Linked DNA regions of Homo sapiens: region 1 is linked to region 2. Evidence: promoter capture Hi-C in human tissues and cell types (Jung and others, 2019). All regions are on one chromosome and are shown on one strand. The core of a region is centred on a gene start or on the middle of the fragment in contact, and the rest is flanking DNA. Distances in the headings are between cores, read along the strand shown. Region 1 overlaps ASTN2 (astrotactin 2). Region 2 holds the start of TRIM32 (tripartite motif containing 32).

Evidence for each region. Contacts are between HindIII fragments. The study calls those that stand out against the background at their distance.
Region 1: a fragment that was not itself captured here is called in contact with the fragment with the promoter of TRIM32 in region 2 in 1 of the 25 tissues and cell types used here (dorsolateral prefrontal cortex).

Annotation. Positions count from the first base shown.
Region 1 is chr9:117,398,783-117,404,821 of GRCh38, reverse strand. All of the region lies in intron 1 of ASTN2 (astrotactin 2), which reads left to right. Among named protein-coding and RNA genes, the nearest start is that of ASTN2, 13 kb to the left of the region's middle. The HindIII fragment of the contact is 5,229 bases long and covers 1-4,881 here.
Region 2 is chr9:116,686,027-116,692,111 of GRCh38, reverse strand. It overlaps TRIM32 (tripartite motif containing 32), which reads right to left and starts at 4,807. Exons shown (of 2, transcript NM_012210.4): 1 at 4,731-4,807. All of the region lies in intron 16 of ASTN2 (astrotactin 2), which reads left to right. RefSeq lists enhancers at 4,331-4,380, 4,821-5,140 and a silencer at 4,551-4,750. The HindIII fragment of the contact is 20,788 bases long and covers 1-6,085 here.

The DNA of each region.
Region 1 (6,039 bases), core at 1,018-3,517, 720 kb before region 2:
GAGTTGTCACCTCATGCTCTGCCAAGTGTTTACTAGGGGATCAGTGATCTTGTCCTCTGAGAAATTTGTATAAGCTCTATGTCCTTTTTTGGGAAATGATCAGGGTGTCTGGAGTCTGAGATGTAGCCGCTATCTGGCTAGGTGAACTTGCTTCTCACTCCTGCTCAACCTTGTCAAATTTTTCCACTCAGTACTCCTTAGCATCATTGTGCAGTTTTCGTGTTTCCTCCTTGAATGTGGGATCTATATTATACATACATACACACACATACGTAATATATTATAATGCTATATAAATCCAAATATATAGTGTATCCTTCTAGATTATTAGAATGAGGTAAAATGATGCCTTTGAGATCCAACCCAACTCCTTCATCTATGTAGCGAAGACAAATACATTTTCCAAGGTCCTGCAGCTAATCCACAGCACAACCAAGTCTCTAGCTCAGGTCCTCTGATGGTGGCAGTGTGCTAGAGTGAGACTTTTGCTAGGTCTGAGGACCAAAAGCCCTGGGATCAAATCCCAGATGTGCTAATTCCTAGCTTTAGATTTATGTATGCCACTTCTCTGAGCCTCTGCTTACCCATCAATAACATGAAGAAAACATAATAGTCACTTAATTTTGGAGAGCCCTCCATAACCACATTTTAGTCAGCACTGGGCACTGTGCTAACTTTTTACTTACACTAAGCTGTGTGATCCTTATGGAGATAGTGTGTGCAAAGCACCTAGCGCAGCATCTGGCACACAGCTTGGGCTCTGTGCCTCTTCGCCACCTGGAATCCTTTTTTTGGAAGGAGGTGGAGGTATGAATCAATAATGAATGTAAATTTCCTTTCCCCTCCCCCTCTTTCCACTCCCTCATGCTCCTCTTATGCCTCCTCTCTCCACCTCCCCTCCTCCCCAGCAAGGCAAAAAAGGATGAAATTGACCATTGATGTCTGCTCATTCTCTTGGAGCTGGGGGAAGCTGGGGGAAGCAGGGAATTCCGGGGTTGTTTGAGGACAGTTGGGACAGAAGAGCTCTTAGAGACTGAGTCTAAGGCAGGTGGGTGTTGTGGGAGCAGGCGGGGCAGAATCCTCTCCCTTCTGGTGGTGGCTGGCTGACAAAGCCTTGCTCTCATGCACCCAGGGAAGTCACGAGTGGCTTTGCAAGCAGCCGAAAAGGGAAGGAACATTTCCATTAGCAGAATCAGCAGTAAAGAGATTTCCAGTCACAGTAATAGCTGCATTTGGGGGAATCATTTCAGTGGTGGCTGAGGGCGGAGGAGGGAAGGGGGTGGGGCATCGGGGGAAGGCACAGGAAGACGTCTGGTCTACTTGCACAGAGCTGGGAGATAGCACCAAATTAGAGCCAGGTGCCAGACAGGGTGACTATTCAGGAGCAGGACTGGTCCTTTGACAAACATTCTGGATTCCCTATTGTCCTCCAAATGGACAGAGCTCCATTCTAGAGGGTCCCCATGGGAGGCTGCACACTTATTCAATGCTTCCTTTCCTCTGATTATCTGAATTACTCTTTTCAAGACTTTTACAGCCAGCAGCAACTTGTTTGGCTCCCAGGATTTGTAGGTGGAAGAGTTCCCAGATTATTTAACCCAGGCTTTCCTCAAGTTAGCTGATCATCAGAATCACGGTAGACCTCAGGCTCTCAAGGCCAGACCTGCTGAGGCTCCTGGGGAGAGGCCTGGGAATCTGAACTTCAGCAAGTGTATTGACACCCTGGCCTTTACCTAGAAAACCTCTGTGAAGTGAAGCCCTGTTAGAAGCTCTTCAGCCTCATCCTCCAATGTTCCTTTCCTCCCTCGAGGCTCTAGCCTCATTAATTACTTGCAAATGTCTGAGGGTAACATGCTTATTCTCTTCTCTCTGTTTAGATTGTTTTTGTATTCCTCGTTCACCTGGCCAGCTCCTAGACTTAGCTCTAGCATCTGCTCTAAGGGGTGTCATCTCTAAGGAGCCTTCTCTTTCTCCTCTTGGGCTTAGGTTTTCTTTTCCTGGAGACCTATATACCCTCCATCACACCACCACCACCACCCCACCCCACTCCATGTAGGGTTGCTCTGTTTAGCAAATAAAAATACATGATGCCAACTTAAATTTAAATTTCAGATAAATAATGAATACTTGTTTAGTATAAGTATGTTCCATGCAGTATTTTGGACATACTTATACTAAAAATGTCTCGCTGACTATCTGAAATTCAAAGTGAACTGAGCGTCCTTTATTTTATTCAGAAGCCCGTAGGAAACCTGTGTTTCTCTCCTTCTTGTCTGGGATCACACTATTGATGTGTGATTTGCCCCCTAAACCTGCTCTACCCACATCTTCCCATCTCAGGAAATCAAACTATTAGCCTAGTTTTTCAAGCTAAGCAGTCATTCTTCATCGTTTTCCTTGCCTCTCATCCTTTCAGTCAGCTAACCCTGATGGTTTTGCTTCTTAAATGATTTTCAGGCAGGGTGCAGTGGCTCACGCCTGTAATCCCAGCTCTTTGGAGGCGGAGGCAGGCAGATCACTTTAGGTCAGGAGTTTGAGACCAGCCTGGCCAACATGGTGAAACCCCATCTCTACTAAAAACACAAAAATTATCCAGGTGTGGTGGCAGGTGCCTGTAATCCCAGCTACAGAGGAGGCCGGGGCAGGAGAATCTCTTGAACCTGGGAGGTGGAGATTGCAGTGAGCTGAAATCGTGCCACTGCACTCCAGCCTGGGTGACAGAACAAGACTCTGTCTCAAAAAAACAACAACAGGAAAAGATTTTCAGAATTAACTTTTCATAGTTTCCACTGGCATCACCTTCATCCAAGCTGCCATCCTTTCCCATATCAGCCTCCTAACCGGTCTTCCTGCTGCCTCTCCCTTCTCTGTCCTTTCTTTATGCCATACTATATATAGCCCATGGGCCAAATCTAAACAATTGCTTGTTTGTTTGTTTGTTTGTTCAGCTCATAAGACTATTAACTTTTTAAAAATAGTTGACAAAAAGTCAAGAGAAGAATAATATTTGTTGACATGTGACAATCATATGAAATTCAGATGTCAGTACCTATAAATAAAAATGTACTGGAACACAGCCACACTCCTTTGTTTATGTGTTGCCTGTGGCTGCTTATGGTCTATAATGACAAAGTCAAGCAGTGGCAATAGAGAGTGTCTAGCCTGCAAAGCTTAAAATATTTATTAACTGGCCCTTTACAGAAAACGTTTGCCAACCTCTGCTCTACACAGTAGCCAGAGTGATGTCTTCCAAAAAATAAATTATATTTTGCCACTCCCCTGTTTACGACCTGCAATTGTTTCTCATTGTTTTTAGGATAAAATCCTCATTCTTTTTCAGTGTCTGCAAAATCCTAAATAATTTGCCTTTTTCTCTGAGTTGCCTTCTACCATTTCCTCCCTTGCTCACAAAACTCAAATATTACCTCCTCCAAGTAGTCTTCCCGGACCAAAGTAGCACCCTTATACACCACACTCTCAGCTATCTCAATTATTTTTAAAAGCCTTTACCTGACAGGTATTTGGAGGCAGGGAGTGTGTCTTGTTCATCATTTTGCTCCCTCAGCTACGTAGCTGAGGAACATCACATAGTAGGTTCTGAGTAGATATTTCCTGACAAAATGGGCAGAAATCAGGGTGATAGTTTGTGAACACCACTTCTGATGGATCACTACCTCATCAGGTTGTTCTGTTTTTTATTAGGAGGAGGATTCCAGGAGCTAAAGTTTATAAAGTATGTTCAGCAGTACCCGGCACTTAGTACATGCTACCTATGTGCTCGTTAAATAAACAAAAGTAAATAAGCCTGTACCTTAATCCCTAATACCAGCCCCCTCCCTACCTCTTTTGCAGCTGGAGAGAGCTTAGGATCACTCGAAGCAAGTCATGTGGTTAAAGATCTCATGGAACCCAGAGGCAGTGTAATATGGTGGAGAGGACTAGAACTAGGAATCGTGGGTTTTGGTCCCAGTTCTGCTGGGTGTCTGTGGTCAAGTCTCTTCCTCTTTTCAGGCTTTCCCTCATCTCTAATGTGATGAGATTAAACTAAGTGATCCTAGGAGCCCAGGAGGGAGAGAAGGGTTCCCTCTGGGAACTTCTGAGGCTGGAGTTACAGTTAAAGCTTTCTCCTTTCCTTCTCTATCCTTTCTGGGGCCTCTGAAGATCAAACACTCAGCTCTGAACCCAGGTGCGACTAGAGTTTTCAAGCCCAGTCTTGCACTAATTTATCAGGGAATCTTCTTCAATTACTTTCTCTCTAGCCTTCCCCAGGGAGGGGGACTGCCCAAAGTAACCAATTACTGGTCTGCCAATGGCAGGGTTCCTACTGTCCCTCCCTCCCCTCTTTTCTCTCTCTCTTTTATTGTCCTGACCTCTTTAATCCATCTCTCCAAACCACAGAAGCCTCTAGGGAATCGCCCCCACTCACTTGCCTCCCTGCTTCCAGGAGGGAACAGACGTTCTGTCCTCCCCACAAAAGGACAGCAGGTGGAAAGACTGATGGCTGAGAAAGGGCAGCTACAGAGCTAGGAAAACCAAACAGGTTTTTCAAGTCTGGTAAGTACACAACTGTGTTGAATTTGGAGGTAGTGCCTGGAGTCTAGTCCTGTTTCTGCCATTGATTTGTTGTGTGACCTTAAATAAATGGCAGTCCTTTTTTGACCTCAGGGAAGATTAATATTGTAAGAGCCAAGTCTCTTTCAGGAAAGCAGGGGAAGATTGGGCTGCATAGGCTACTCCAAGAGAGAGGAGAAATCATCCAGTCTGGTTTGCTGCAGAATCCCATGTGCCTACAGATGTGTCCATCATATAGTAGATACTCAATAAATATTTGTTGAATGAATAAATGAATAATCAGTGGAAATTATGTTTGGCCATACTGCCACTGTCCACTTCTGTATTCATGACAGACATTGCTAATCAATCATTTAATGATAGCCTGAGATTCTTTCTCAATGCAATGCCTCATCAATCACTTCCAGTCAATTGGGATTAGCATAGGGGATGAATTTTATTCCCATTTCCTAATCTAAACCAATTCAACCCGAAAACCTTGGCATCTCTGCCTGGTGTTAAGACCTTTTAGTAATTCTTCAGTGGTCCTTCCATCCCAGACCCTGTGCTGGATCTCTAGTGGTATAGAAAAGCAGGGTGCTCATAGACCCTTATTGCATAAGGTCAGTAGTAATGGGATTAGCTGTATTTATTTTAAAAAGGAAACTTTGTATCACTGTCATGAATGAAACACCAAAATAACTTTCAGTAAATGGAAGATAGCCTGCAAAAGTAAGTATGTCTCTATCGAAGTTAAAACACTCATGTGCCGTCTAAATTCATCTCTGGTTCAATACTTGGAAAATGTTGATCGACCCAAGCACAGAGACGAAGATAGTCCTCTAAAATTCAAATTTTGCTCACTTAAATGTCAGATTATCTTTAATATTATATATTTTAAAAATATCTTTTCTGCCTCATAACTACCATCTTTTAAGATCCAGCGTGAATATTCCCTCACTCCTTCTAAGATGACTTTCCTGGCTCCCCCCAAAACAGTTATTTCCCAAGCATTTCGTATATTCAGTGCAGTCAGTATTTTCATAGAAATATTGTTGATTGCATGTCGGCCTTTCTTGTTAGTATGTAAGCTTTCTAAGTTAAACATCATTTCTCTTTAATATCTGTAACTCCAGCAGAGAGTACACGTGTGTTTATTGTATTTCCAACCTCAATTTTACATTTTGGGTCAGGCGCGGTGGCTCACGCCTGTAATCCCAGCACTTTGGGAGGCCGAGGTGGGCAGATCACAAGGTGTTCAGGAGATCAAGACCATCCTGGCCAATGTGGTGAAACCCCATCTCTACTAAAAATACAAAAAATTAGCTGGATGTGGCAGCGCATGTCTGTAGTCCCAGCTACTCGGGAGGCTGAGGTAGGAGAATTGCTTGAACCCGGGAGGCGGAGGCTGCAGTGAGCCAAGATCGTGCCACTGCATTCCAGCTTGGGTGGCAGAGCAAGACTCCATCTCAAAAAATATTAACAGAA
Region 2 (6,085 bases), core at 3,558-6,057:
GGAGAACTTTAAGCAATTAACAAAACAAATCTTTACTAAGCACCTACTATGTGTCTGGCCCTGTGAACGGTACTGGTGATACAATTTTGAGCAAAAACCAGACATAAACAGTGCTTTCCCCTAAAAACTAGACAACATGTAAAATATTGCATTTCCTTTCACAAGACATAAAGGTCCATCCTACTATTGACACGCTCCCCTGGTTTGACTGGGTTTTTTGCAAGGTTTATCTCATTTCCTTTTATGTCAGCTTTCTAAACTTTATTCCTCATGCATTCTAACAGAATGCTAATCAAGTGCAAAACTATCACTGTGCCACCAAAGGCCACTCGTTAGCAGGACTGACTTTAACGAATTCAGTGAGGTCATCACCTGACATCCACTCCTGTGTGTGGGAGAGGATTCTGATGAAGTTTAGATTACTCAGGGCATTTAAGGCACCTGCAGACAACTAAGATAAACTCAACAAGTAGGGGCTTATAGGGAAACACAGGCATGCTCCTGAAGTTGTACCAGTCTGGGGCAAACAAAACGATCCAGAAGGAAGTATGTTTGTAGAGAAAGAAAACTTTAGCTAAATTACTAAGTTAAACATAGCTAAACTATGTCAAGGGCAGGCTAAATGAATAATAGGGTTTCCTGGAAAACATGCTTGCCTGTTGTCTCTGTCTTCCTCTAAAACTGCAGGACCTAGAAAGACTCCCTTGCATCTTTCACAAACATTTGAGTAGTACCTACGCTGCCAGTATGACTCAAGGAATATAAGACAAAGGAAAAATCAATAGCCCCTTCTCAGGGACCTCCAACTAACCTCAACCCTCTCTCTCTTTCAATTCCTTTCTCTGCATATAACATCTGTTCATTTAATCATGAGATTATGATTAAAGGATCAAGGAGATCCTAGGAAATATACAAAATGGGATGAGAATTTTGGGGAGACTAGCAGAGACTACTTAGGGTTATCAAAATCTGGCAAAGAGCCTGAGCAACAGAGTGAAACACCATCTCTACAATAAATTTAAAAGATAATCAGGTGTGGTGGCATGCACTTGTGGTCCCAGCTACTTGGGAGGCTGAGATGGGAGGATCACTTGAGCCTAGGAGGTTGAGGCTGCAGTGAACTGTGATTGCACCACTGCACTCCAGCCTGGGTGACACAGCAAGACCCTGTATAAATAAATAAATATGACAAAGCAACACTTAGTTCTCTTCCAGCACTGCCTTCCTCTCATAATTGCTAACACTCTTAAAGCAACTACTATTTATTGTCAGGCATTTTTTTATATGTTCTCATAGTCTCATAATAACCATGTAAAGTAAGTGTGATTCCTCTTCAAAAATAAGGAAACCAATGCTCAGAGAAAGTAGCCTGTCCAAGGTCTCAAAACCAATAAGTAATAGAGCAAGGATTCAAATCCCAGTATCAACTCCCAGCCATAAAATTACTAACTTAAAGGATGTTTCATAGTTCCCTAGCTTTAGACAAAGTCTGGCTGAGAGGTTGGTAAGGGCACCTAGAAATGATTTTTAAATTTGATTGTTTTACCAGAAAGACAAGATGGAGGGAATGTCACAAAGGTTACACATCAGTGTGCATAGACAATGATCTACTTTAAGGGCCTTATAAACTTCTGGCTTCCAACTATTCTCCAGACATAAACATAGGGGCTCTGAAGGGTTGGAAAAGGCTTCTAATAAAACTACTATAATGTAACATAGGTGTAAGACAGAACTGGGTTTGTATCCCAACCTAGCTACTTGCTCTGTAGCCCTGGGTAAGTCATTTAACCTGTTATTTTTCTTATCTGTAAACAAGGAATAAAACCTAGACTGTTAGCAGGATTGAATTCACTAAGATAATGCACATAATAAGCACTCAACAAATTATAATCATTTGCATTTTTAATAGATTGAGGCTGACAGGACAAGTGCCGTAGCTACTGACAAGGTAACATAGGAAATTAGAGTAAGGAGTTTAGACAGGGCTGATTTAATTCCCATGACATATTTTCTTTTAGGGATGTGCACAGATATTCCAGCTAAGTCTTGCTGTCAGACACAGTCTAGCTTTGTTTCTGAACTGGCTTCAGCAACCCTGTAGCTAGTCCTGGAAATGATAGAGCCAAATTCTGTTCCAGGGAAAAGCAGACCAAAAGAGACCATACAGAACAGTAGTTACTCTCCTTCAGAGTATGACTGCCTTCAGCCTCAGTCCCTGCTATGAGGTGTTTTTTCAAGCCAATGGCCTCCATACCTCACCCTATAGTCCGTTGCACCTCATCCTGCCTGATAACCTCAGGCTCCTCTCCTTATCTAGCCCCAGGTCTTGGTCTAAGGGCAAACCAAGAACAAAGTCCAGGGCTCCTCCCTACCTAATCAGAGAGATTTACCCCCCAACTTTAGAGTTCAATCTGATAGTCAGTGATACTCACTGGCAATCCTCTTTTTCATTAGAGGGGAATGGGCTGAGAAAATAAGACTAAGCAGGCCCTAGCAAGGAAGAAGCAAGGAAAGCGGGAATATACGGAGTTACAGAGATCTGGGTATGAGCTTAACTGTGTCATTCCTAGCTATGGAAACTTAGGCAAGTCACTTCCTAAGCCTTAGTTTCCTCATGTGTAAAACTGAATACAGTAGAGCCTACTTAGAAGGACTGTCATGAAAACTGAGTAAAGAAGTAGATACAAGACTAAAAATTACTAGATTTTGAGAACTTACTATGTGCCAGATCCTAGGCATGCTAGTTTACTTCACTAAATCCTCACAACAATTCTGTGACATTGGTCTTGTTATCATAACCCCATTTTACAGATGAAGAGCCAAGGCACTGGGTGGTTAAGTAACTCATTCAAGGCCACAAAGTCAGGAAGAGATAGAGCTAGGACTTAAAGTCAGGAAGAGATAGAGCTAGGACTTGAACCCAGGGTATCTGACTCTAGGTCAGAGTGCCTCAACTTTGGCATTACTGACATTTTAGGCAGGATAATTCCTTACTGCGGGGGGGAAGGGCGTATCCCACACATTGTCAAATGTTTAACATAAAACATTATGTTTAATGTTTAATCTACCCACTTGAGGCCAGTAGTATCCCCCACCCTGTGACAACCAAAAAACATCTCCAGACATTGCCTAATGTCTCCTAGGAGACAAAGCCAGACTTGGTTAAGAACCACTGCTTTACAGTCTAGCACAGGACTAAATGCTCAATACCTAAGGGTTCCCTTTTTTTTTTCTGGTGGTTGTTGTTGTTGTTTTGTCTGTCTCCGAGCCCAAACACCTCACTCACAGAGCCACTGCCCCTTCAAGCTGTAATGGATCTTATATAGGATAAATTATTCCACTCATTCCCCTGGAGGTCTCACTTTCTATCTGCTATCGTAGCTTGGGGGTACAGGGAAAAAGGGCTTAGGCAGATGACCTTGAATAGTTCCACTTCTTCTTCCCCAAAGCCTACCACTTTCAGTGGGCCGGGGGACCGGTGGTCAGAATGGAGTTAGTGGCAATACCATACCTGCCTCATGATAACGGATCTTTGTTTAATAAATGAAGAAGATTCTGCCCTTCACAGGGATTACCACACTCCTTCAGGATTATCTGAACTGAAGATTTATCACTTTGTTCCTCAGCACCTGAACTCTGCTCATCTTCATATACTCATCCAGTTTCATACATTACTTTTAGGTCCTTGGGTCCCCTGAACTCCCTCTGTCTCCCATGCAGCGATTTAAGGAAAATCTCTTTAGCAGCCCAAGACACCAATCCACAAATCTACTCAGGGTCCTTTGATTTTATAGCCCAGTTAGGACATCTCCACCCCACGATTCAATCCTCTCCAAACCCTGTCCCCAACCCTCTTACAATTCCAAATTCCAATCTTTGGGGCTGTATATTGCAACCCTCGTCAATTCCTCACTCATATGCCCCAAATCCCTCGGACTCAGATCGTTTAATCCCTATTTCCAAATCTCTGCCACACTCAGCCCCGCACCTCAGTTCAACGCCCCAATTCCTCACCCCAGATTTCTGCTCTCCCTCAATCTGAGCCCCCATCTCCTGCATTCCATCGGGCACTGTGCTGCCCTCATACCCTGCTCCTTCCTCTTATGCACTGAATGTCATGTGCTGCCTTCACACCTCAGCCAGCTCCCTTCTTTCTGCTAACAAGATAGAGTCCCTCAAGAACTCACCCCACCCCCTCAATCTCACCCTCAGCCCACTCCGAAAACCCTTTCTCAATAGCACTTAGGATCGCCCTAGACCTTGCTCCTATCATCTCAGACCCTGTCCTTGCCAGATGCCTAGCGCCCCCAGATTTCCTCAAATCTCATCGGGGCCCCCCAGTTCCTTCATATTTCTGAAATTCTGCACCCAGGTCCCTCCAGGGCCCTGATTCCCTCCCATCTCCCACATGCTACACCCCGTTCCTCCTCAGGGCCCCGACATTACCTCATACCTCCCGAGATGCTGCAACCGCAAATCTCTTCAGAGCCCCTCGCTCCCCTCCCCCAGCTGCATCTCCTCGGATCTCCTCAGCCCCACGAATCCCTCCCGAGCCTGCCCCTCGCAGCCCCACCCCCACCCTAGTCCTGCCCCCCCCAGATCCGGTCCCCACACCCTGCCATTCGGGCGCGGCCGCTGCACGCCGGCACGTTCCCCCGCCTGGCCGCTGAGCCACGGCCCACGACTCCGGCCGCGGTCCCCAGTCCCCAACCCTCCTTCCCGCCCCCTACCTGACCGCCCGCGGCTCCGACGAGTCCACCGCCGGCAGCCCACCCGCCTGCCTCCCTCTGCGCACGCGCCGTTGAGCACCCCTTGCCGGGCGCCAATTCGCAGAGCTCCCTGTCCGTCACTGAGCCCCGCCTCCCCAGCATGCTGGGGCTTGTCGTGCAGCTGGCCCCAAGCGCGCGGGGCAAGGCGGCCCTGCAGGGGTGAGCTTTCCTCTGAGAACCCGGGGCCTTAGCGACACGTAATCCAGTTTTCCGTCTCCTTGGTGCAGATGAAGAAACCGACGCCCATGGGCGAAAGGGACCTGCTCAAGTTCACTCAGTAAGTCAGGAGATAAGCCAGAATGCGTATCTGACTCCAGTCTCAATGTCTACCCCTTCACAAAACGGTAGCCTCCAGGGTAGTCCTCAGCAAAGCGTTGGCACCTTACTGAATCTGTTTTTCCATCTGAGAAATGGGCCAACGGAAAAATCAAACTTCCATTCTGGGGAAGTCGAGAACCGGGACTCCCTAGGAAGGGCAGTGCTTTGGCCTCATGTTCTGTGCTCTGACAGAGAGCTGCACTAGAGACAAGTTTATCCATGAACACATTGCTCTGTAAAGGAATGTTTTGCCTACTCAGCTGGGAGGCCGACAGCAGAGGCAGACTTGGGGAGTACACTCTGCAGCCCCTGTCCCTGCAGACTGAAGGTACCCGGGAACCCAAACCAAGTGTAGTTTTGCTCGGGTGAAGGTGGAGGAATCTTACCAGGTGGGAGGTGATCTGGCCTGAGATTTGAGGGAATCTGGGGCACTAGGCATCTGGCAAGGACGAGGTCTGATACAGGACTGGCTGGCCACGACCTGCAGTCCCTGAAGTAGTTTGGGGCCAATCACCTACTCTCCAAGGTGACTATACTGTACAGCTTAGGAGCACAAAGGAGTTTGAAGTAGGATGGACTTGGATTTGAAATTCCCCTTAGCTATGTGACCCTGCACAATGATAAAACAATAAACAAAAACAATGACTAACATCTTTGAACACTTGCTGTCTGGCTACAGCTGAGGACTTCAGGTGCATAGCTCACTAAATCCTCATAAGGACCTAATGAGATAAGGCAGCTGATGGTTAACCTACACCTGTTGTGTAACCTAGGTGGTTACACAAGGCCACATATACCTAAGTGTTGGAGCCCAAATTTGTACCCAATTCTATCTGAGAACCCACTCTCTTAACCTTGTTTACTCTTTCTCCCCATTTTCTAAATTTCTAATTGAAGTTTGCCATGAAGATAAGCCAAGATTATGGTAGTTTGCACTTAATGATAACTATATTTGAAAAATTGTAATTAGCAGGTAGGGGATAAGGGAGAGGTAATGC